Linked DNA regions of Homo sapiens: all the other regions are linked to region 7. Evidence: promoter capture Hi-C in 16 types of primary human blood cells and fetal thymus (Javierre and others, 2016). All regions are on one chromosome and are shown on one strand. The core of a region is centred on a gene start or on the middle of the fragment in contact, and the rest is flanking DNA. Distances in the headings are between cores, read along the strand shown. Region 1 has its middle 43 kb from the start of LINC01103. Region 2 has its middle 47 kb from the start of LINC01831. Region 3 has its middle 17 kb from the start of LINC01103. Region 4 overlaps LOC100287010 (a long non-coding RNA gene). Region 5 overlaps LINC01102 (long intergenic non-protein coding RNA 1102). Region 6 overlaps LINC01102 (long intergenic non-protein coding RNA 1102). Region 7 holds the start of POU3F3 (POU class 3 homeobox 3).

Region 1 (3,329 bases), core at 52-2,551, 300 kb after region 7:
GTGAAGAGCCTTAGGTTTTGGGCATTCCCAGAGTTCTTGTGGTTTCACATGTGCACACCTTGGATCCAGGAAAGGAAAGGCCTTCGCTTGCCCCATAGTCCACTTTGACTCTGAAATGAGGCTTTCTTTTGATGATGTATATAACCCTATTTATCTCAGTTTTAATGAGGGTACTAGTTTGCCAAAATTTTTGCGTCTTTGATCTATTAAAAAAATCACTAAACATATTAAGATAAAAAATGTAATTAATACTACACAGGTCACTTTCATATTAATAGATACAATCTGGAAATTATACGTGGGCTCTCAGTTCCTTTCTAAGCCAACAAACAAAAACAAAGCAACCACCATACAGATAAACAAAACAATATTCCAAAAAATACCATGAAAAAAATCTTATACATGCTTAAAAGGTCTTTTCATAAATCAGTGTTCAGTTAGCAAAAGGATATCATTTAAGCATTATTATATCCCAAAAACTAATTGCTAATGAGTAAAAATGTAAATATTAGATGTCTTCAATAATTTTTTTCACCTGCTTTGCCCATAAAGTCTTAAACTATTCTCTTTTTTGACTATGTGCAATGATTTATAGGGAGATATGACCATGAGCCCTCAATTCATTTATATTTAACTCAACAAAGCTTTACCATGAAGTTTCATGGGATGCCCTGGATCTGTTTAAAATGCTTTTTTTCTCCTAGAAATTAGAAAATTAGCAACAATAAATGGAACTAAAACCCAAAGCATGTCAGGTCTGATATCAATGCTTTATGAATGTAAGATAGCATTGGAAAGTGGCAGAATTAATTTTTTATCCTTAATTTATGTGTTTCTCAGGCCAAGAACGTTTTCCTTGGAGATCCCTGGCTCTCAGCACCTATAAGCAAGCGATTGCAAGAGAGAAACATTGCCTCAAAATCTACTGATATCTTCAAATAAAGTGTTACATTTTGCTGATGAGTACTAATGCCATATTCCCAGGAAATGAGATGCCACGTTTTCCATTGCTTGGGCATTTTTGAAAGGGGTTACCTCAGGGCCAATGCTGCTGTTTTCCTGGCATGCCACATTATCGCTCTCTATTACTTTAACTGCAGTCGCAGTTCTTCACATCCCAAAAGGAGTCAGGGTTACCGAAGCATGTCATATTGTCTTAAGTGGAAAACATTGAAACAACAGCAAAGTTTACATATGTAGTATATGCATGCACATATAATAACACTCATGTGCAGAGTACACAAAAATGCACATGTATGTGCACAACAGGCAGCATCAGATGTGGAGTGTATATGCATGTGCCTTATGGTGGACACCCATAAGAGCATGCGGAGACCATGGGATGCCAGGAATTCTACCTCTCTATGAGCCCAACCTTCTACCCAAGGCCTTTGTCCTTCCCCTCCCATTTTCTCCTAAGCATTTCAGCCTCAATTCCCAAGTTTGAAAAGCTATAAATTTCTGAACAATGTTTGAGCTTTCAAAATAGTTGAGTTCCTTCTTTGCAGATTTACCCCTCAGTGTGAGCACCAAAAATGAATTCTTATTATGCAAAATTTTTGGCATTCTGAAAGCTACCGCTGTGAGACTCAGCACTCATTTCATTGGGGAGCTGCAAGCAGTCTGTAAATGTGGGTTCTGCTTAATACCAACTTGACTTTTTTGGGTTAGGGTAATGTATTCAGGAATCCTTGAATATGAAGTTTGGGTTTTTACAGGCAGACAGAGAGGAGATAAAGCCGTGATTAACTTGATTTTTTTAGGTCATGCAATTTTGTTGATTAGCAAAGCTGATGGTCTGCATGTGAAGAACCTGGACTGTTTTCTGGAATTCAGATTGTTGGGTGATCACCCACCTCACCATTTCTCTTCATTTGTGGACAAAACCATAGGTAGGTACATCTCCACTGGAAGTTCCCCTGTTTGAATTATTCTCCAGATCACTGTTGGAAGCTTCGGTAGGTTGGCTTCCCATGCCAGTAAAAAAGAGTGATAGCTGCTTTGTGAACAACGCAATTTACAATGATTTCAGCTTAGACTTTTTCATCCAATGGTTTCAGGAAAAAAGAAAGGAAGTAGAGGAAAGACTACTCAAATCCTTCAGCTTCCGTTCCTGGCTATTTGGAGGAAAAAATCACAGCGAGAAGCAGACACTTTATTTTCCAGGCACTTTATTTTAGAGCTTTCTTTCCCTCCTGGAGTAGGAATACATCTTCCATGACAGTAGTAATAACTGAATATAGGGTCCAATATGAATCCCTAATATTTAAATCTATACTTATGAAAGCCAAGTTTATTCAGTTGCTCATTCACTCATATAAACACACCAAAGCAGCACAAGAAGGAAAATTATTGTCCTATGTAGGATTTTTTGTATGCTTGTTAAAAATAGCATCTATGCAGAAACAGTATCTGTAATTTATACACATGAATAGATTCCTTTACTGAAAGAATATGTTCTCCAATTTCTGGAAATTGGATCATATTTTAAATGCACTTGAGGGTTTTAAAAGTGATTCTGTATTCATACTTTTTTTTAGGTGAAATCTTACTGTTGAGTGAATATTCACTAGTTAATCTTTTTACTAGACCTGACTTTTCACATATTAAGGTTTGAAAGCACAGTTCACCTGTCCTGAGCCCTCCGAATTTCTCAGGTGCCTGAGCCCTAGAGTCATTAGCTCTGCACACCTGGGAGAGATTTTGAGAAGCATCTGGTCCACTTCTCCACCTTCAGAGGAGTCTGGGTTGATATTTCTCAATTTTCTTCTTATATGTCTTCAGGGACTTCCCTATATAGACACTCAATGATGTTAATGTGTTTCCCTCTATTTGCAGACTAAAGAGTTTTATTTATGCCTTTTCCTCCTTGTGTTAGTCTGGATTTACTAATTAAATCAAATTCCCTTTAAAGACAAGGAGACGGAGTCTTACTCTATCGCCCAGGCTGGAGGGCAGTGGCGTGATCTTTGCTCACTGCAACCTCCGCCTCCCGGGTTCAAGCAATTCTCCAGCCTCAGCCTCCTGTGTAGCTGGGGTTACAGGAGTGTGCCACTATGCCCGGTTAGCTTTTGTATTTTTTAGTAGACAAGGGATTTTGCCACGTTGGCCAGGCTGGTCTTGAACTCCTGACCTCAGGTGATCTGCCTGCCTCAGCCTCCCAGAGTTCTGGGATTACAGGCATGAGCCACCGTACCCGGCAAGACAAGGTTTTATATCATCCATATGCCAAAAAGATTCCACAAGAGTTGGTCAGTAAGTCATTCAGTTATTGTAGTATTGTTGCTTACCAGTCTCTGCAGGATTGCTTTTGCTTGAGTCTACCAGGT
Region 2 (3,110 bases), core at 216-2,715, 490 kb after region 7:
CCTTCCAACAGCAGCGCCACCTACGCCTTTCAGAATTCTTGGCAGAGACGCCCACCTCTGTCAGCGGTTTTCAGCTCCTCCTGATTGACTGTTGTCTCTTCTGCATTGCCATGACGTTTCGTTTTATATTATCGAATTCATACCCTATTCAAATTCTTTAAACCTTTGCCTTTCCCTGTTATTTGTCCTTCTCCTGAGGTTGGAAACTCACTCCCCTTTGTGGCGCCTCCCAGGCACAGCCGCTGCTCACTGGACATTTGATTCGAATTGAAATATTTTAAAAAGAAGCCAATGGGAAAGTCACTGAGAATCATAACTATCTCTTGAGCCTTTGAGGAAAAAAACAAACAAAATGAACTTACCCCTAATTATTGAAAAGCATTGATACATTTTATAGAGAAGAAGAAAAATTCTAAAACAAAGGTTATGAACCCGGCTTGCCCCTAAGCCTTTATGACATGTCCTTTCTCTGTAAGTATGACGGTATCTCTATCCTCTAGAACAGAAAGAACTTAGAACCTCTTTCAGACTTCAATGCCATCTTCTCCCTGGGGGCCTTTCCTGACCACTGTGCTTGAAAGTACCACAGCCCCTTCCTCCAGCTCCCTCTGCCCGGTCTCCATGTCATTATTTGTCCTTCCAAGCACATAACCTCCTAAGATTCTGCAAGACTTTCTTTTCCATTTTTAATTTAATTTGTTTTGGGTTTCATATTTTTGTCTACCCCAGGAGTGTTCAATCTTTTGGCTTCCCTGGGCTACTTGGAAGAAGAATTGTCTTGAACCTCACATAAAATACGCTAACACTAACAACTAGCTGATAAGTTATTTTTTTAAAATCACCAAAAAAGTCTCATAATGTTTTAAGAGAGTTTACAGATTTATATTGGGCTGCATTTAAAACCATCCTGGACTACGTGCGGTTTAGACAAGCTTGGTCCACCCTAAAGAATGTACAGTGAATGAAGCCAAGGATTTCTTATTTTTTTTTTTTTCTCTGCTCTATCCCATCACAGGCATTCACTAAGTATTGGGGAATGAATGAAAGAATGAACATCTTTCACTCATTTCTCCCTTATATTTCAAATCCATCCTATGGCTGAGTTATTTTTGTATAAAATTTTCCAAACACATCTATTTCTAAAACGTTTTCACTCTTAGACTATTGAAATCTGCTGTGTAGCTGCTGTAAGCTGGATAGGCCATTCTCAAAATATCCCTACACTAAAGGTACCATTGTTTTTTTTGATGTTTGTAAGACCAAGTTTGTTCTTTTTTCCAGTGTTGCAGTAACACTCAGGTTGCTTTGAAATTAAATTAAAATTGTATTTTTTGTGCACTAAGGTCCTCCTTTCTCTGTGTTCCCTTTTATTATGGTCTGGCCTGTTTCTCAGTATTCTGGGCAGAACCCCCTACATGCTTCCTTATCCCTTGCCACCCACTTTTTTTATACTCATATCTACAGTTTCTACTGTTTCACATACCTTCTGCCTTAATTTCTGATCAAACTTCATGTCAACTTCCAGAGAGTTACTTTATACTGAAAAAATTCATTTTAAAGTGAGCTGATTATATTTACTTCAGTCATTCCAGAAATTACCTATGCCACTCCATCACTCAACATATATGCATTAAGAGCTTATTAGATACCAGGCACTAGTCTGGGTACTGGAATTATCAGGGAGAACAAGAAAAATAAAATCACTGCCAAACTGAAATTATGATGACATTCTAATTCTTTATTTTTGCCTTCTCATTGGGTATGTAGGATGCACCATATAAATACACTGTGTACCATGCACATACTGCGATGGTTTAAAAAAAGAAGCTGGTCTTCAGCATGGCTTGAGATCTTCGTTTCTATGAATTAGAGTCACTGTGCACATTCTTTGTGCCATCAACTGAATTTCAAGGAATGATGTGTGTGTGTGTGTGTGTGTGTTTAATTTTACTTACACACCTACTCCTTCTGAACTATTTGTATATGAAGACAAGCTTTTAGACTATATTCTTGTTCACCTTTCCAGCTCCGTGTTTTCCATTTTAACATGTTCTAAAGCAGATTACAACTATGACTTGGGAGGAGAGTATATTGCTGGCCAGGCACACTGATTGGTATCTCTATAAAGACAAATTAATTGAGCAAGTGACAAGCTTTGTAACAAGTTTCAGGTGCCACATTTCACATGGTCGCTCTTTTGGAATAAGACAAGGACATTTTCATAAATGTCTTGTTACTACCCATCAGGACATGCCCCCAAGATTGCAAACCTTATGGTCAACTCTGAACACTTTGAGAACTTGAATTAAAGTTTGAAATTTAAGGCGATAGCATTCTGAGCGAGGTACAACATTTGTAGACATTAGATTAAATTAACAAAGCATCATCTGTCCCTCTGATGTTGTGGCTGCAAAGTCCTTCAGGCATTGTCTGTGTGTGTGTGCACACACTCATGAGCATGCACGCATGTGCAAAAAGATTCTTCTCAACCACCATCATAGCCCATTTCTGGAGTCTCTCTTCTCCTACATGCTAAGTATATTTCTGAGAAGTACAGAATAGAAAATATATTGCCTTAGTTGGCCAATCCAATGCAATATCTAGAAGCTTGGAGACAAAAGGATCATGGCCATGAAAGACATAAATGGCAACAGTCAGTTGAATCAACAGTCATAAAGTTGAGTTTTTCACAGACGCAAGAGAAATCAGAGTTATGGAATTTGCATCAAATTTGTATAATTCTTGGCTGGTTTGGCCAATGTTTAATTTAATGGTTCATTCTATTTTTAAAAAGTAGTTCTAAAATTTGCTTCCTTTTGTTAAATTCATTCTCCAAAAGCCAAATATTGCAATCTAGTGATGTAGCCTTCAATTTTTGGCAAAGACCATTACATTTTCTGCTCTTTTTTCTGATGGTGTAGTGGGGGAAGAAGCACACTGTCTCAATTGCCATGATGTATTTTTATTTTTAAACTACTTTTTTTTTTCTCAAGGAAAACATCTCAATTTTGAAACTCTCTGACATTATTTTTGGCATAATTTCTTTGCCTTACCCTAAATAGTTTTGCCACATTTATTGTTCTTATCACATGATAACTGAGGGGATACTG
Region 3 (3,363 bases), core at 849-3,348, 330 kb after region 7:
GGATTTTAAAGTATTTTTTTCTAGTTCCGTGAAGAATGTCAATGGTAATTTAATGGGAATAGCACTGAATCTAAATTACTTTGGGCAGTATGGCCATCTTCATGATATTGATTCTTTCTATCCATGAGCATGGAGTGTTTTTCCATTTGTTTGTGTCCTCTCTGATTTCCTTGAGCAGCCGCTTATATTATTTTTAATGATGGACAGAGAGAAGGTTGATACCATGGCAAGTGTGTAAGAACACCTGAATGCCTGAGGTTGAAAGTGTGCATGTGTTGCAGAAGCAACTGTATTACTTAGAGAGGGAGCAATTGTACCTCTGACCAGCCCGGCACTGGGGACAGCTGATGAAAGTGTGTACTCTGCGCCAAACTCCAGAACCCTGGGTGAGAGATCACATCTGGTTTATTGAAAACTGTTGCTAATTTTAGCCAAAAACGTCTACTTGGAAAAGGAGGAAAAGGGAAACGATCCACACACTTCGGCTTCCTCTGATATGGAATTTGGAAGATTCCCAGAAAGACAGACAGGTTGGAATACGTAAATAACCCAGCATCAGGATTGGCAGAGAGGTGATGCTAGAGGACAGTAAGAGTAGAAATGAGAATAGTTCTAGAAAGTTTGTACTGGAGGGTAGTAGGCAGTTTACATACATCATCGGGCTAATTCTGACAGCAGCCCCAGAGGTAGGCTTGCAATATTACCCCACAGTTAGAAATGGGGGCAAGTAGCAATTGGAGAAGGTTAAGTAAATGGCCAGGTGTCATGCAGCCGCAGTCCTGGCATTGGTATTTGAATCTAGCCTGCTTACTCCACAGCCTGTGCTCTAAGCCAGGGGCCAGCAAACTGTGGCTCACAGGCCAGATCCAGCCCGCGGCCTATATTTGGAAGTAAAGTTTTGATGGAATGTAGCCACTCTCATTCGTTTGCATGCTGTCTACGGCTGTGTCTGTGTTCCCGTGGCAGAGAGGAGTGGTTGTAACGGAGGATATCTGACCTACAGAGAACTGAGGCCCTGAACAAAATGAAAATGCAGGGCCTCCAGTTCACAAATTATTAAGAATTTTAAAACAGTAACAGTAGAACATTAAACCAAGCAAACGGCCCTTCTAAAGTGTGGGGCTTTGTGCAACTGCATAGTTCTCATGGCCCTGAAGCCAACTCTGGACCCACAAAGTCTAAACTATGACTATATGGCACGGTACAGAAATATTTTCCTCTGATGTTTTTCTATTTCCAGCCCATGATAAAGCTTCACTGTTCCACAAATGAGAGAAATGGATGAGGTTTCCCACAAATCTAGATGGTCCTGAAGTATTCACCATAAAGAAACTATGCTTTAGTTTGAGATTCTATCCTTATCCAATTTTTGGTGCCAAAATACCCTTTTTGATGAAATGATGGGAAGAGTAGATAATAGACGTTTGTTTGTTTTATGTCCTTAATTGGCAAAATAAAAAGTTTATTACCGTATGTCAAGAATCTAATTAAAAAAGAATTACCAGTATAGTAGTCACTGGAGGTACATAATGTTAAATGGATAGACAGGAAAAACCAGAACACAGTGTTGAGTAAAACCCAGAGTGAGATATAAAGTACAGTATCTCTGCCACACATAAATAAATACATGCTCTATTTCAAACACGTGTGCATAGCAAAGACGTATACCAAACTGAGTGAGAGTGGGGAGGGGGAAGCTGGGGTTGGGAATGGAGTTGAAGAAAAAAGCATGAGATTAGACAAGAGGAAGGCCTCGTACCTACCGATTTTGATAATACGTCCTGAACTGAGAATGCAATTAACTGAACTGAACTTTTACTGTCTGATATCCAAAACACAAACTGTCCTTGCAGTGACGCTTGAAATTCCGACTCAGAAAGCACTCCCACAATGCTCCGCAGGGCAAGCTGAGATGGACGGGTCTGCCCATGGTCACCGCTTCTCTGCCATCCGAAAGCCAGCATTCGAATAGCACTTTATGGTTTGCAAAGCTCTTTCTCTTTTATTAGTGATGGTATTCTTATACCCATTTTATAGACAAGAAACCTGAAACTGCAAAAGGTTAAGATAAATGGCCAACCAACACAAATATGGCCGAACCTAGGCTCATTCCAGGTCTTGTGACATTCAGTCTGATGCTTTTTCTAGTCTCCCCATAAAAGTTGACTCCTCGATGGGGTAAGATTCATCGTGCTTTAAGGGTGACAGCACGATTAGGAAATGTTTGCTTTTATGAAAAGTCTGTTGGTGACATCTTTTAATACATTTGCCAATAAAGAAGGCATTCATTCCTCAGGGTCTCTCCCTCTGTCTCCTTCTTTACTGAGTTTTCTCCCATCCTCATACCCGGCTTTACCAGATTGTGGGGCCAAAGTGACCCTCAGAGATGATTCCAATTTTGCACCAATGTAGGACAAAAGTCAAATAATAACACGATGGTAACTGTTTATGCCTTAAATGATCTAATTCTGATTTTCTAAGTCTCTTTGGTGTACCTGCCATGTCAACAGCCTTGCAAATGGGCTGTTCTTGCTCATGGCTAATTTAAATATCTTTGATGCACTTTAACTCTATTCCTGTCCTCCAAAAACCAGCCGCTTATATTCTAATGCACACTTTAAGATGGTTACTGAGTTTTCTACTCTACTTTCGCCTAATTAAACCAAGATCCTTTTGCATTTTTTCAAAAGGACTATTCACAAGACTAATCATTTTTGTTTTTCATTTATTTTGCATTTTACACTCTTTTGTCCCCGACTTTCTCTTAGACACTGCATGGCCTCTCTAGATACCTACTGTGATAGGTATCAAGACTAAAGTCATAGGTTAGACCAGTGATGCTCAAAGTTTAGTCCCTGGACCAGCAGCATCAGCATCACCAGGGTATTTGTTAGAAACGTAAATTGTGGGGTACCACTCCAAACCTATTGAATGAGAAGCTTTGGGAATGGGGCCCCACAGTCTGTTTAGCAAGTCTTCCGGGGAACTCTGATGCATGTTAAAATTTGAGAATTACTTTTTAGCACACTCTTTCCTCTCCCTTTGTGAACAAAATACTTTTCAGCCCCATTTGTGTTGAGCAGGGCCACATAATTTGCATTGGCCAATGGAATGTTAGTGAATGTGGTACAATCCTTAAATGTGCTTGTGTGGCTTAAGTTGGCTCTTGAGCTGCAGCGATTCAACATAAGAGGAACATGCACCTGGTCGAAGACAGTGTGGAGTTACATGGAACAGAACAGCTCAGTTTGTTTCAAAGAAAAGTAAAAGCAGAAATAAACTCTTGAGATGTCTGTCTCCCTTACAGTCTAGACGGGTGGACTTTATAGGACTCATTAGAAAGCAAATACTTGCTCAGTGAAC
Region 4 (3,170 bases), core at 42-2,541, 460 kb after region 7:
TACCCAGTAATGGGATGGCTGGGTCAAATGGTATTTTAGTTCTAGATCCCTGAGGAATCGCCACACTGACTTCCACAATGGTTGAACTAGTTTACAGTCCCACCAACAGTGTAAAAGTGTTCCTATTTCTCCACATCCTCTCCAGCACCTGTTGTTTCCTGACTTTTTAATGATTGCCATTCTAACTGGTGTGAGATGGTATCTCATTGTGGTTTTGATTTGCATTTCTCTGATGTCCAGTGATGGTGAGCATTTTTTCATGTGTTTTTTGGCTGCATAAATGTCTTTTTTTGAGAAGTGTCTGTTCATGTCCTTCACCCACTTTTTGATGGGGTTGTTTGTTTTTTTTCTTGTAAATTTGTTTGAGTTCATTGTAGATTCTGGATATTAGCCCTTTGTCAGATGCGTAGGTTGCGAAAATTTTCTCCCATTTTGTAGGTTGCCTGTTCACTGTGATGGTAGTTTCTCTTGCTGTGCAGAAGCTCTTTAGTTTAATTAGATCCCATTTGTCAATTTTGGCTTTTGTTGCCATTGCTTTTGGTATTTTAGACATGAAGTCCTTGCCCATGCCTATGTCCTGAATGGTAATGCCTAGGTTTTCTTCTAGGGTTTTTATCATTTTAGGTCTAATGTTTAAGTCTTTAATCCATCTTGAATTAATTTTTGTATAAGGTGTAAGGAAGGGATCCAGTTTCAGCTTTCTACATATGGCTAGCCAGTTTTCCCAGCACAATTTATTAAATAGGGAATCCTTTCCCCATTGCTTGTTTTTCTCAGGTTTGTCAAAGATCAGATAGTTGTAGATATGTGGCGTTATTTCTGAGGGCTCTGTTCTGTTCCATTGATCTAAATCTCTGTTTTGGTACCAGTACCATGCTGTTTTGGTTACTGCAGCCTTGTAGTATAGTTTGAAGTCAGGTAGCATGATGCCTCCAGCTTTGTTCTTTTGGCTTAGGATTGACTTGGCGATGCGGGCTCTTTTTTGGTTCCATATGAACTTTAAAGTAGTTTTTTCCAATTCTGAATGACAGCAAGCTTTCAGCTGGGAAGTGGGGCACTGGTGTCCCCTCCTTGTAGACACTCCTCATCAAACCACAGGGTCTCATAAAGCCCCATTTATTTGATTATGGAGAAGAGAGGGAGACCCCTTTTCATTCCTGACACTGCAGATCTATGAGGATCCAAGAGCCCTTCCATCCTTCTTTACTCTGTAATCCTCTTATATAAACTGGGAAGCAGGGGATGGTCACTGGAATGGTAGCAGGGGTGGTTCTGCCACTGCTTAACAAACAGGGGACAGTGTCTGGCCGTATATATTATATTTTTTATCATTTGTCAGTTCAGAGTCTTGGAGTATATTCCAGCTCAAAATAAAAAATGTCAGCTCCTTATTTTGTGGATGTACTTTAGGAAATCATCAGTACCATTTATCAGATATTTTTATTTTCCTGTTAGGCACTTGGTAGAATTGCATTTCCTTACCTTCTTGGAGTTAGGTAAGGCCATGCTTTAGCCAGTAATTATTTTATATTGGGAGGGAAGCTTTAAGAGCTTGAGTGTCGTTTACTTGATTCCCATGTTCATCTCTAGAGACTGTGGAAGAATATATCCAAATGGAGCCTCCGTTAGGCCAGGTCTTCATGTGTTTAGGATGAGCCAAGCCTCCCTGTGTTCTTTGTGTTGAATATGTGGTGTGAGTGGGAAACATATTTTGTGTGTGTGAAAAGCCACACAGATTTTTGAGTGACCTGTCACTGCAGCAAAATCTAGCTTAGCCTGATGAAAACAATGTTGTTGCATTAAACATGAGCAGCCAGGTCAGAAGCTGATAAGGACTAGAAAATGCAGATCTGCCCTGCTCAGTGCCACCTGCCCCATGCCTGTCCCCTCTCTGAGGCCCAGCCCCCTTTCTCCGTGTCCATCACACTTTGTGGAAGCGTTGCCAGCATGTCTGACAAACTGTCCTATAAAGTTGCTGACATCGACCTGGCCTCCTGGGGACACAAGGGCCTGGATATTGCGGAGAATGAGATGCTGGGTCTGATGAGTGTGTGGGAGCTGTACTTGGGCTCCAAGCCACTGAAGGGCACCCATATCTCTGGCTGGCCGTATGTGACCGTGGAGAGAGACATCCTCACTGAGACCCGTTGTCTCCCTGGATGCTGAGGTACAGTGTTCCAGCTGCAACATCTTCTCCACCAGGACCAGGTGATGGCTGCCATTGCCAAGGCTGTCATTCCAGTGCATGCCTGGAAGGGTGAAACAAGCAAGGGGTAACTGTCATGCATCCAACATTCACTACTTCAAAGACGTGCCCCTCAACATGATTCTGGATGATGGTAGTGACCTCACCAACCACATCCACACCAAGTACCCACAGCTCTTACTGGGCATCCAAGGCATCTCTGAGGAGACCACCACTAGGGTCCACAACCTACATAAGATGATGGCCAAGGGGATCCTGAAGGTACCTGCCGTCAACAACTCCATCACCAAGAGCAAGTTTCACAGCCTCTAAGGCTGCCGGGAGTCCCTCATAGATGGCATCAAGAGGGATACGGATGTGATGATTGTCGGCAAGGTAGCCATGGTGGCAGGCTATGGCGACATGGGCAAGGGCTGTGCCCAGGCCCTGTGGGATTTTGGGGACCCCTTCGTCATCACCAAGATCGGCCCCATCAACCTGCTACAGACTGCCATGGGGGGCTATGAGGTGACTGTGGTAGATGAGGCCTGTCAGGAGGGCAACATCTTTGTCACTGCCACAGGCTGTGTTGACATCATCCTTGGCCAGCACTTTGAGCAGATGAAGGATGATGCTATCATGTGTAACCCTTTGATGTGGAGATCAATGCCAAGTGGCTCAACGCGAACACTGTGGAGAAGGTGACCATCAAGCCCCAGCTGGCCAGGACTGGCTGAAGAGCAGCACGGCACCATCCTGCTGGTTGAGGGTCTGCTGGTAATCCTGGGCTGTTCCATGGGCCACCTCGGCTTTGTGATGAGTGACTCCTTTACCAACCAGGCGACGGTGCAGATTGAGCTGTGGACCCACCCAGACAAGTACCCTGGTGGGATTCACTTGTTGCCCAAGAAGCTGGATGAGGCTGTGGCTGAATCCCACCTGGGCAAGCTGAATATGAAACTCACAAGTTGACCAAGAAGCAGGC
Region 5 (3,302 bases), core at 264-2,763, 370 kb after region 7:
CGTGCCCAGCCAAGACTGAGTAATTTATAAAGAAGAGAGCTTTCTGTAGCTCATGGTTCCACAAGGTGGGAAGTTCATGGGACATGGTGCCAGCATCTGCTCAGCTTCTGGTGGGGACTTTTGTGCTAGGTCATAACATGGACGAAGGTCAACAAAGAAAGGACAAAATCTGAGGGGGGTCCTCGCTTTATAATAGCCCACTCTCAGGGGAATGAGTTTATTCTCACGAGAAGTAATCCAGTCTAAGGAGAGCAGAACTAACTACCATGAGACCCATACCGAGCCATTCACTAAAGAACCCCCCGACCAATGACCCAAACACCTCCCACCCAGCCCCACCTTCCCCACCAGCACACGGGGACCGCATATCAACATGAGATTTGGTGGGGACGAGCTGTATGTAAACCACAGAATACCTGAAGCTCAAATATCACACTCCACTGAGGCATGACCTGATTCCCCAGGGCGTTGGTGGCTCATTGAGCAGTCCTCTCATAGCAGTCACTTTATATCTCGATTACGAACATGATCTCCTTGTATTTCAATTCTACGCTTTCACGTCTCTCCCTCTGTTCTAGCAAGTGCTCCCAGAGCAGAGAGCCAAGACTTATGTACTTCGTGGCCCCCCGAGTCTTAATGGTTCCTGCTATGGGGAAGATGTGCAATAGATGTAGAAAGATGTAGAAAGAATGAATATATTCATAAATGGGCAAATGCTGCCAAACATTTTTAACACACTTAAATACTGTATCCGAACTCTCTTCATGAAAAGTTCAAACAGCAACCAAAAAGCAGCTTCTCTCCTATTTTTCACTGAAGCAGAGTCCAGGACTTCTGAGACCCCCCGAGGCATCCCTCCACATCTGCTAAGGAGCCTGAGGAACTGAGGAGAGAGAATAGGGCAGAGTCACTCCAGCCTGAGTGCAAAAGTGATCAAAAGAAGCAGTCCCTTCTCGGAGCAATTCTTTTCCATTCTTGGTATAGGAGTTGAAGTTTCTTTGCTGCGCTTCACTGGAGGTGATAATTCTATAAAATAATATGCTTAAGTTTTTCAGATGATATAACCTAACTAATGTACATGCAGGTAGGTTATATTCCTTTCTGGCTACTCTAGTACAGATTTCTCCCAAAACATTTGGGCAGTGGACAAAAGCTAAAAAACTGCTCCTCTCTGGTGCTGTAAAAGGTAGCCTTTGGCAGGCCACACAGGCCTTTCTAGACAGCATCTTGTCTTCACAGCCGCACCTCCTTTTTTGAAGTCATATCACCAGCATTTTGAGTACCAGAGTACCTATTTAGGGCACGAGAATATGCAGCTATCAAAGAATTTGCACGGAGCACATGGCTGGTAAAAAAACAACAACGAAAAAATCCCACTGTTCTAGGATTTCTCCATCGATTTGAGGGAACCAGGGAATTCTCTAGCAGCCATAGTTAAGGGTCACTTTAGCAATTGGAAACAATGATCAAGCAGCAAATTGTTGGCAGGGGACATCCAGACAGAAGGTAGCTTAAATTGATGGCTTCTGTGGAGGCCAGGGGAATTCAAAATAGAATTTGCCTGGGATTTTGTTTGGCCAAACCACCTTTACTAAAGAACTGTGATATCCAAACAATGCCCATCTTCCAGATCAAATTCAGAAAGCTGGAATGAGGAGTTCCTAAATAAATAAAAGTTATTCCAGAAGGATGAAGTGTCCCCTTTTCAAAAAAAGAAAAATGCGTCTTCCATGTATTACCCCAATTTGCTGTATAGGCAATGTTGTTGTGAAGCTATCCAAAGAATTTATTTGGTTCTATCAGGTGTTAAATAGCTTCAAATAATTTTATATGTAATTTACAAGATTTTAAGTTTGACTGTACCTGTACCTGACCTCTGTCATGAATACTCATTTGGCATGGATGGCAACTTAACCTGGTTTAAAGACAAATGATACCAGCTGGATATACATCTTTGTCCTGAAAAGATTCAGACGACAGTAGAGACAATCATCACCATCATCTCTCACTACAGTGTCTGCCAGCACAGGTCCTACCTGTTCTCTTGGCTCCCAGCTTCTAGGTCACAATGATTGCAGCTTATGTAAACTTAAGCAGTGCCTGTAGGCTAACACCAACAATTTCTTGGCAAGTGAAATTGGACGCTTGCTTACCTCCCCAGCCTCGGGTCTCACTGCTGCGCTCATTCCTGCTATTCTCCCTGGCTCTGATTCTCCTGAGCTGCTTCCAGTTCTCCACATGGCTCAGATGATCTTTTGCCCTCTGTCTCCCTGGTCCCTCTGCGTTAGTAACCTCTGTTCCGGTGCCAGCCACCCCTCACTTTGCAGACCGTGCTTCTGGCTGAATGCTGCACACTCTTCCCTGAGCCAAGGTTGCTTTCCTGAACACCAGTAGCCCTGCACTCAGCACCAATCCCCCGTAAGTGCTTCCCCATGGCATGCCCCATCTTTACCCTTTCTCAGCCCTTAGTGTCCTCCACTGTATTGCAGTCATCAGGGGAGATGGCTTATTCCCAGCACTTAGTTTATTGCAGAGGCATAATGCATATTTAATGATAAATGAAACCCCAGAACCTCACCCCCTGAAAAAACACACCAAATATTGTTGTCTCTCAAAGAGGGCAGTCTTGGTGCAAAAGAAAAAATGAAGCCTGAGTTTGTATTACAAAGGCATGATCTTGAACCAGTTCTGTTACCTACTACTCTTGCACCTCTAAGAAATCACTTCCCTCCTAGGTGAGTCAGTTTGTGCATCTATACAATAAGGGTAATGGTACTTTGCTTCTAAAGTAGCTGTGATTTCTAAAGGCTTACTGGCACACGAAGTACATAGCAGTGCAGTATTTGGGACCATGTTGGTAGGAATAAAATTACTCATCATTCCATGGGTATCCTGGAATGTTCATCTGGAATGCAGCTGGGCAGAGCCACTCCTTCGTGTCCACATGGCCACATCACACCTTTGCTCAGTTGCTGTGACAAGCTGCAGGCTTCCCTCACAATCACTCCAAGACAGCTCTGCATGCACAGGCACTGGTGAAGTGGAGCAGGCTGCAGCGTGGATACCTTGCACTCAACCCCCTAAAATGGACACTTCCAGGTACATTGGCCAGGAGAGGAGTCTTTGTGGTTGGTCTATATGTGATGTTACAAGGCTAAATGAAACAAAAATGCTTTGTGCTTATGGCCCATGAAAACAATGAATCAAGGAGGAGAAGACAAGGGCAGAAAACGAAAAGGTTTCAATGTCCAGGAAGCTGCGCCTGCACCTCTCATCAACCTGTCTTCACGAGCTATTGTTAA
Region 6 (3,298 bases), core at 58-2,557, 390 kb after region 7:
TAAAGAAAAAAACAGAGCCTCGGGGATCTCTTCACACTTCTGAGTCTCTGTCAAGCAAAAAGATAAAGTAAGTGTTGAAGAAGGTGCATGATAATGTAACTGGAAGTGTCCATGCCTTCCAGTAAGCAAAGGGCTTGACCCAGTAATGTTTGTGTAAGTTGTCTCCTGACTCCAGAGGTCCACCTATGTCTATTGAGTACAACCACGTGGGTTCCAAACATGTATACATTATAATCGGGTAAATAGAATTCTCTTATTGGGGTGGCACATTTCCTCCTTGGAGAGGAAGAGTATTGCTTCAGACTAGAGGATCCTGAGGTCCCTGACCAAAGAAGTTCATTTTAAAGGACAACATCCCCGGGGTTTATGAATTGTCACCAAACAGACAGACCAATTTAAAATGATATTCAGCCATGTGGATGAGTCAAATGTGATGCCACTGCTTCTGCCTCAGTACTATAAGTGGAGAAAATGGATTTCCTGTAGAATTCTGGATGAGAGCTCTGGATGAATTCCCAGGGAAAAAAATGTCTGACCATAATCAAAAGTGGTGTCAGGTTGGGTTTGGGGAATTATGGATGATTTCATAGTGAGGGAGATCAAATACAAGGTAGCTAGTGTAGGAGACAAAGCTAGTGGCACAAGCAGAGACAGGGCCAAAGGGTATCATTCATCAAGCCAGGGAAACTTGTTCTCCCTCAAGAGGCTGGGGAGTGGTGGAAGCCTGGTGAGCAGGGAGGATGTGGTCAGGCTCACGCAACTCTTGGCAGCCCGTGGGACAGGTATGCACAGACACACACTGCTGTCCAACTGGTCACTGTGCTCTGGATCACCCACCCTCAGAAGGGCTCTGCAAGATCTTCAGTGAAGTTGGACATAACTCTTAATTTGCTTGGAGAATGTGGAGAGTCAAGGGACTGAATGTTTTATTGTGCAGGGCTGAAAGAGAAAAGTATGTAATCGTTTCTGGAAAAATTTTATCCAAATAGGCCTCCTTGTGTGGAGTTGGAAGAAGAGTATAATTTCCTCAGAGACTATTCCTGCATGATTCAGGAACACTTCTTTAATATCCAACAGAGGAATGAGATGCAAACATGAAAACAAAGGGATCTGATCATGTGCCTTCCACCAGAGTCCACATCTTCCCATCATCTGGGGTACAAGCACAAGCATCTCAGGTTAGGCTTTTGAGAAGAAGATGTGATGTGAAGATTTCTGTGCAATCGATGCATGAAGGAAGAGCTTCCAGGAGAAACTGGTGAAAGATGAGGTAAGCAGACCACAGAAAAGGGGAAGCCAGGCCAGGGAGTCGTGCTAGGCAAACGAGCATCCTCAGTCTGTCTGATCTGCCAGGGAGCTCTGGAGTATAAGTCAAACCTGAGAGATGGACTGACTTGGGGTACGGGAGCCAGTCTTCATATCTGACACTGGCCAGACTTTGGAGAGGGGAATCAGGAGCTGAAGGGCAGTTTTCTGCCCTGATGCAAGCCAGAGAAGCAGGGCCATAGAGGAAGAGGTGGGGGACACACCAACAACAGGTAAAGGGACCCAAGAAACTCTTGGCTGAGCCGGGCCAGTGTCTCCAACAAACTTTTCACCGACTGAGGTCTGCATACAGGCTGAGAAGTATAGTTTGGAGTCAGATATGCAAGTGTTTTTCCCCCTTGAGCATCTACTTTTCTTATTAGATGTGTAAACCTTAGCAGAGTACTGAATTTTCTCCATATAAGAGCTCAGAGTTTCTACTTTTGCAAAATGGAAATAATGATATTGCCTCCCTTATGGAACTGCGGGACTTCAATGACATGAAGTATGTATAGTACTCAGCTCAGTGTCTGCACATAATAAATGGGTAATAAATGTTAGTGAAAATGAGAATTGAATTTCTTATGCTTAAATAGTCACCATTGACTAAGTGTTTAATCAGAAGGCATGCAAATGGTGTGGATATGCGGAACTCCAAATAAAATTTGTCCTGATACTTGAGGGCAAACATACAATCTGGCTTTTTGAATTCAGATACCTCAGCTTCTTTTGATCTGAATTATTCAGGGAACCAATTCAACTTTCTGCCTAGTCCTGTTTTGCTTGGAAAACACAAATGCTGCTAACATTATGGTTCTTTCATTATACAAATCATAGAACTTCTCTGGGCCCAAGTTTCTCATCTATAAATAAGATAGTTTGACAAAATGATTTCCAAGTTTCCTTCCAAAGTTTACTATGACTGCATTATTTTGCACATGTCATTCTAGACGGAATTAATCGTAGGAAAATAAACGTTCAATTATGCTGAAGGTTACAAACTTCTAGCCTTTACAATTCAAAAATATTTCACTAAAATTAGACTTCAGTTAGAAGTACGAAGGCAGTAACATGAACTATTTTGTTTCAGTGTTGTTTTGACCTATTGTTATTTTGGGGTTGAAAACAGTGTATCTGGCCAGGCAAGGTGGCTCATGCCTGTGGTCCCAGCTCTTAGGGAGGCTGAGGCGGGTGGATCACTTGAGGTCAGGAGTTCGAGACCAGCTTGGCCAACATGGTGAAACCTTGTCTCTAATAAAAAATAAAAAAATTGGTCAAGAGTGGTGGCATACTCCTGTGGTCCCAGCTACTCGGGAGGCTGAGGTGGGACAACTGCTTGAACCTGGGAAGTAGAGGTTGCAGTGAGCTGAGATTGTGCCACTGCACTCCAGCCTGGATGACAGAGGAAGACTCTGTCTCAAAAAAAAAAAAAAGAAAACAGTGTGAGAAGAGGTGAGAATTATCTTAAAAATAACTTAAACAATCATAATCATTCCCAAAGAAAATTTGCAGCCCAGAAGAAATGTCTGCTACGTTGTTTTGACCTACGTGAAGGAAATTGTCAGAATGATAAAGCTCTTTATGACAGTTATTACATTGGCAAACAAATAAAGCAGTCTTTCTTGAGATATAAAATACATAGCCTTTGTAAAATATAAAGACCCTAAGTTAGGGAAGCTCTCAAGCTAAGATATATTTATTCCCCTTAAAATAACCTAAACATAGATAGCAAATAGAATAGGGTAATGAGATTTGATCATTTACGTGATTCTAGAGAAATGAAAGAGGATATATAAAATTACATATGTTAAATTTTAATTTTGATGACTTAAAAATATTACTATTGGCCAGGTGCAGTGTGGCTCATGCCTGTAATCCCAGCACTTTGGGAGGCTGAGGTGGGTGGATCACCTGAGGTCCAGAGTTTGAGACCAGCCTGGCCAACATGGTGAAACCCTGTCTCTACTAAAAATACAAAAATTAGCCAGGTGTG
Region 7 (3,527 bases), core at 581-3,080:
TGCGGCGGTGGCGGCGGCGGCTGCGGTGGCTGCTGGGGGCTGCCAGCCATGCCCACGGCGCTGCCCGACCACGGCGAGCTCGCCTCCACGGCGGCGGCGGCGGCAGCGGCGGCGGCGGCGGCGGCGTGGGGCAGGGCTGTGACCCACTGGTGCGCGTGGCTCAGCATATGGCCGCCGTTGCTGGCGGCCATGGCCCCCTGCATGAAGTCGCTCTGGACCATCTTGACAGAGGACGGGTCCCCCCGGTAGGCGCCCGAGGTCACGGCGGCGCTGCCCGGCTGCATGCCGCCGCCCCCGCCCCCTGCGCCGCCCCCGCCGCCGCCGCCGCCGCCACCCCCGCCGCCGCCAGCCCCTGCCGCGTCCGAGTGCACAATAGAGCCGGCCGCGAGCAGGCTGTTCCCCGGCAGGTAGGGGTTAGAAGCCGCCGTGGCCATGCCGCTCCGCTCCCGCCACCCCACCGCCGCCACCACCGCCGCCGCCGCCGCAGCAGCAGCCGCGGCCGCCGCCGCCGCCGCCGCCGCCGCGCCCCCCGCCTCCCGCCTCCTCCCCCCCTCCTTCCCCGCCCCCGCCCCGGGCCCCCGCCGGCCCCGCCGCCTTCGCCGCCTCCTCCTCCGCCGCCGCCTCCGCCCCCGCCGCCGCCGCCGCCGCCGCGGCCCCCGGCTGCAGCTGCAAGGCCGCTCGGCAGGGCGCGGGGGTCGCCGGCCGGCCTTGGTCACCAGCAGCAGCAGCAGCCGCAGGAGCAGCGCTCTGGGGAGGGGGGCTCGCTTCTCGGGGTGCGCTCCGTGGCCACCCCCTTCAGGGGGGGTCGTGGCCGCCCCCCAGCCCCGGCGCGCTGGGCTCGCTCCAGCGGGGCTCGCCGGGCGGGGCGGGGACCTGCACTCGGGGCGCTCTCCCGGGACGCGCGGGCTCCCGCTCCTCCTCCTGTCCTCGGGCGAGCCCGGACTCTGCCCGGTCGCGGGGCTCCGTCCACCTGCTAAGTGAAGGTTTCACGGGAGATAACAAAGAAAGAAGCTGCTCCTTTCTTCCTTAGCCAAATTACGGATGACCAGCAACCGGCCCGCTCCTTCTCTTGTCCGCTCTCTCCTCTCCTCTCCTCTCCTCCTCAGGAACACATTTCACTCGTTTTCCCTTAGAGTAGTAAAACTTTTTCGTCCTTGAAGGCGTGGTGCTGCTGGCTGCTCGCGAGTGCGGAGAGGGGAGGCTGGCTCCTGCTCTCCCCCTCTGGTCCTCTCGTTTCAAGTTTTGTTCTGTCCTAGGAAAACTTCTTGCGATGGTGCATTTCTCTGAAGTTGCTATTGCCGGAGCTCTTGGTTGCCTCTGAAACAAGAGTCCTTTTTCATTCTCCTCGCAACAGTCACAGTCTGATGCGACATCTTTCCTTTTGGGCAGAAATTAGGAAACAAATATAACAAGGAAAAAATTGAACAGGAAAAAAAATGATGTCGAATCGCTCTGTTACCTTGTTGCTGACGGTTGGGGTTGGTGTTTTATTTTTTTCCCAGCAGTTGTCTGGAGAAGGAGGAGGAAGAAGAGTGCATTGGTGGAGGTGGAGGTGTGTGTGTGCATATAGGGGATCGATCCTTGATACACAACAACTCCAGTGGGCACGCTGCACGGCTCGTAGAGTGCACCGACGGCGGGCGCTGGCGCTGGCCGTGCTGGAGCAGAGTTGCAGCAGGAGCTCGCTCTGCGCCCTCGTTCGCGCTCTCTTTCCCTCTCTCACTTTTCCTCTCCCTCCCTCTCTCTCTCTCCCTCTCTCGGGCGCCCGCTCTCGCTCCGATCTGACAGTTCGCTCTCTGTCCCTCCCTCTCAGAGCGGGGACTGTCGAATGTTTACCCTCCGCCGCGAGCGCGCACCCACCACCACACTTTCCCAAATACAAGGAAGTCGAGCACCAGGGCCCCCGCTGATTGGCTACCCGCTGGGTGATTGGCAGGCTCGGAATGACTGGCTCAGGACGCGAGGCCCCCCTTCCGGCCGTTCCGATTGGTTGCTTTTTAATTTAGGCAGAGCGTCGTAGAAGCTGGAAATCTGTCGTCCTCCAGCCTCCCTCCCCCTCACCACTTTCCCCTCCCCGCCCCTCCCCCGCCGCCCCCTCCGCCACATCTTAACTCTTAGTGTCCGGCCCAGACGTTGGCGTTCCCTCGGCGGCTCTGGGCGTTCGCAATAGGTCTGGGCGGGGGGAAGAAAGGGGAGATAAAAGGGAGGGAGGGACGAGAGGGGGGAAGAGAATCAGAAGGAAAACGAAGGGGGAAACATGAAAAATAGCAACCTGCCCACCCCACCTAGTACGCGTCGGGTTGCTCACCCCCTTACCCCCGCCCCGCCAGAGATTTGTAAAGCGCGCGGCACGGATGTACCATTCAAGCTAATACCTATAGACAGATGTGTCCCCAGTGGTTTCAAAGTTTCCTCTTCCCTTCACCAGCCGGCCCCCTTCTCTGATCGGCGGGGGTGGGAAGCGGGGGCTCGCATCGCCAAGAGCTCTGGTCGTGGCCACGCTCCTTGGAAATCCGCCACCGCAACTTTCCGCAGCCGTTGCGCGCCGGCGGCAGCCCCCTTTGTTTAAGTTCTCGGATGCCATCATCTGGGAAACCTGCAGCCCAGGACCAGCGCGGTGCCCGCGCGTGCGAGACGGACCGCTCGCTGCCGCCGCTCCCTGGCTCCTCCACCCCCTCTCTCCCTCCTTCGCTCTCCCTCCCTTCCTCCCTCCTCCCTCCTCTGGGATTCGTGCAAGTAGCGTGCGTGCCCTTGTGAGTTTGGAGGGTGCCGGTCAGCGGAGCCGTGCGATGTATTTGAAAAGCAATCAGTCCGACCTTCCCCCATAGATTCATCGTAAGTGTATTCGACCCCAATGGCTTTAGGAATTCCCTGTGGCAGCAGGAGCCGGGCGAAAGAACCGGGATCGGCTAGCCGCGCCCTTCTCTGCTCCACCGCTTCCTCGTGTGTGTGTGTGTGTGTGTGTGTGTGTGTGTGTGTGATTAGCGGTGGGGGGGTTTGCTCGCTCTCTATTCTTAGGCATGGTGGTGCTTTTTTTTCTTTCCTTTCTGTCTCAGATGGATTTGCGTGGTGGATGGGGCTGGCGGCGACAAATGCTTTCTCAGCTCTAACCCAGCTGAAAGAGTTAAGGGGGATGGGAGGGGGAGTGCACCCGGTAGGCGAGAGAAGCGGGGGTGGGGTGGGGTGGGGTGGGGGGACGCGGCCAAGCGGAAACGCTGCACAGAGGAACCTCAGCGAACCAAGAAAAAAGAGAAAGTGGCAACGAAAACAAGGGCAAATTGAGCCCTCCTCGGGGATTTCCAATGAACTAACCCAACTCGGACATTCAATAAATACATGGCTCTTAATGAGCGTGCGTGTGCGTGCACCCCGCACCCCTAGCTGCGGGTGCGCCCGCTTGCGCCCGCCGCCCCCAGCCAGAGCCTGCATCTGGCAGTCCCGAGCCCGAGCGGCAGCCCAGGACGCAGCCGAGGAGCGGCCGCCGGTGCGCTCCGATTAAAATGTGAACGGGCCTGCCCTTCTCTCCC

The links. Contacts are between HindIII fragments. The CHiCAGO score rates a contact against its expected background, and 5 or more counts as called.
Region 1: a contact is called between a fragment that was not itself captured here and the fragment with the promoter of POU3F3 in region 7, in 2 of 17 cell types (monocytes and M0 macrophages). The highest score is 5.4, in monocytes.
Region 2: a contact is called between a fragment that was not itself captured here and the fragment with the promoter of POU3F3 in region 7, in 1 of 17 cell types (megakaryocytes). The highest score is 5.5, in megakaryocytes.
Region 3: a contact is called between a fragment that was not itself captured here and the fragment with the promoter of POU3F3 in region 7, in 1 of 17 cell types (M2 macrophages). The highest score is 5.5, in M2 macrophages.
Region 4: a contact is called between a fragment that was not itself captured here and the fragment with the promoter of POU3F3 in region 7, in 1 of 17 cell types (M0 macrophages). The highest score is 6.0, in M0 macrophages.
Region 5: a contact is called between a fragment that was not itself captured here and the fragment with the promoter of POU3F3 in region 7, in 1 of 17 cell types (monocytes). The highest score is 6.0, in monocytes.
Region 6: a fragment that was not itself captured here is called in contact with the fragment with the promoter of POU3F3 in region 7 in 4 of 17 cell types (M2 macrophages, M0 macrophages, M1 macrophages and 1 more); the score reaches 6.7 in M2 macrophages.

Annotation. Positions count from the first base shown.
Region 1 is chr2:104,552,287-104,555,615 of GRCh38, reverse strand. No RefSeq gene overlaps it. Among named protein-coding and RNA genes, the nearest start is that of LINC01103, 43 kb to the right of the region's middle. The HindIII fragment of the contact is 1,309 bases long and covers 647-1,955 here.
Region 2 is chr2:104,365,218-104,368,327 of GRCh38, reverse strand. No RefSeq gene overlaps it. Among named protein-coding and RNA genes, the nearest start is that of LINC01831, 47 kb to the left of the region's middle. The HindIII fragment of the contact is 1,062 bases long and covers 935-1,996 here.
Region 3 is chr2:104,525,771-104,529,133 of GRCh38, reverse strand. No RefSeq gene overlaps it. Among named protein-coding and RNA genes, the nearest start is that of LINC01103, 17 kb to the right of the region's middle. The HindIII fragment of the contact is 1,687 bases long and covers 1,255-2,941 here.
Region 4 is chr2:104,395,058-104,398,227 of GRCh38, reverse strand. All of the region lies in intron 1 of LOC100287010 (a long non-coding RNA gene), which reads left to right. It also overlaps the pseudogene AHCYP3. Among named protein-coding and RNA genes, the nearest start is that of LINC01831, 17 kb to the left of the region's middle. The HindIII fragment of the contact is 507 bases long and covers 1,038-1,544 here.
Region 5 is chr2:104,480,426-104,483,727 of GRCh38, reverse strand. All of the region lies in intron 1 of LINC01102 (long intergenic non-protein coding RNA 1102), which reads right to left. Among named protein-coding and RNA genes, the nearest start is that of LINC01103, 28 kb to the left of the region's middle. The HindIII fragment of the contact is 5,330 bases long and covers 1-3,302 here.
Region 6 is chr2:104,464,164-104,467,461 of GRCh38, reverse strand. The region is part of intron 1 of LINC01102 (long intergenic non-protein coding RNA 1102); the gene reads right to left. Among named protein-coding and RNA genes, the nearest start is that of LINC01102, 31 kb to the right of the region's middle. The HindIII fragment of the contact is 5,892 bases long and covers 1-3,298 here.
Region 7 is chr2:104,852,418-104,855,944 of GRCh38, reverse strand. It overlaps POU3F3 (POU class 3 homeobox 3), which reads right to left and starts at 1,830. Exons shown (of 1, transcript NM_006236.3): 1 at 1-1,830. The coding sequence starts at 434. It also overlaps a transcript of PANTR1 not described here. RefSeq lists an enhancer at 1,637-2,226 and a silencer at 3,435-3,484. The HindIII fragment of the contact is 8,766 bases long and covers 1-3,527 here.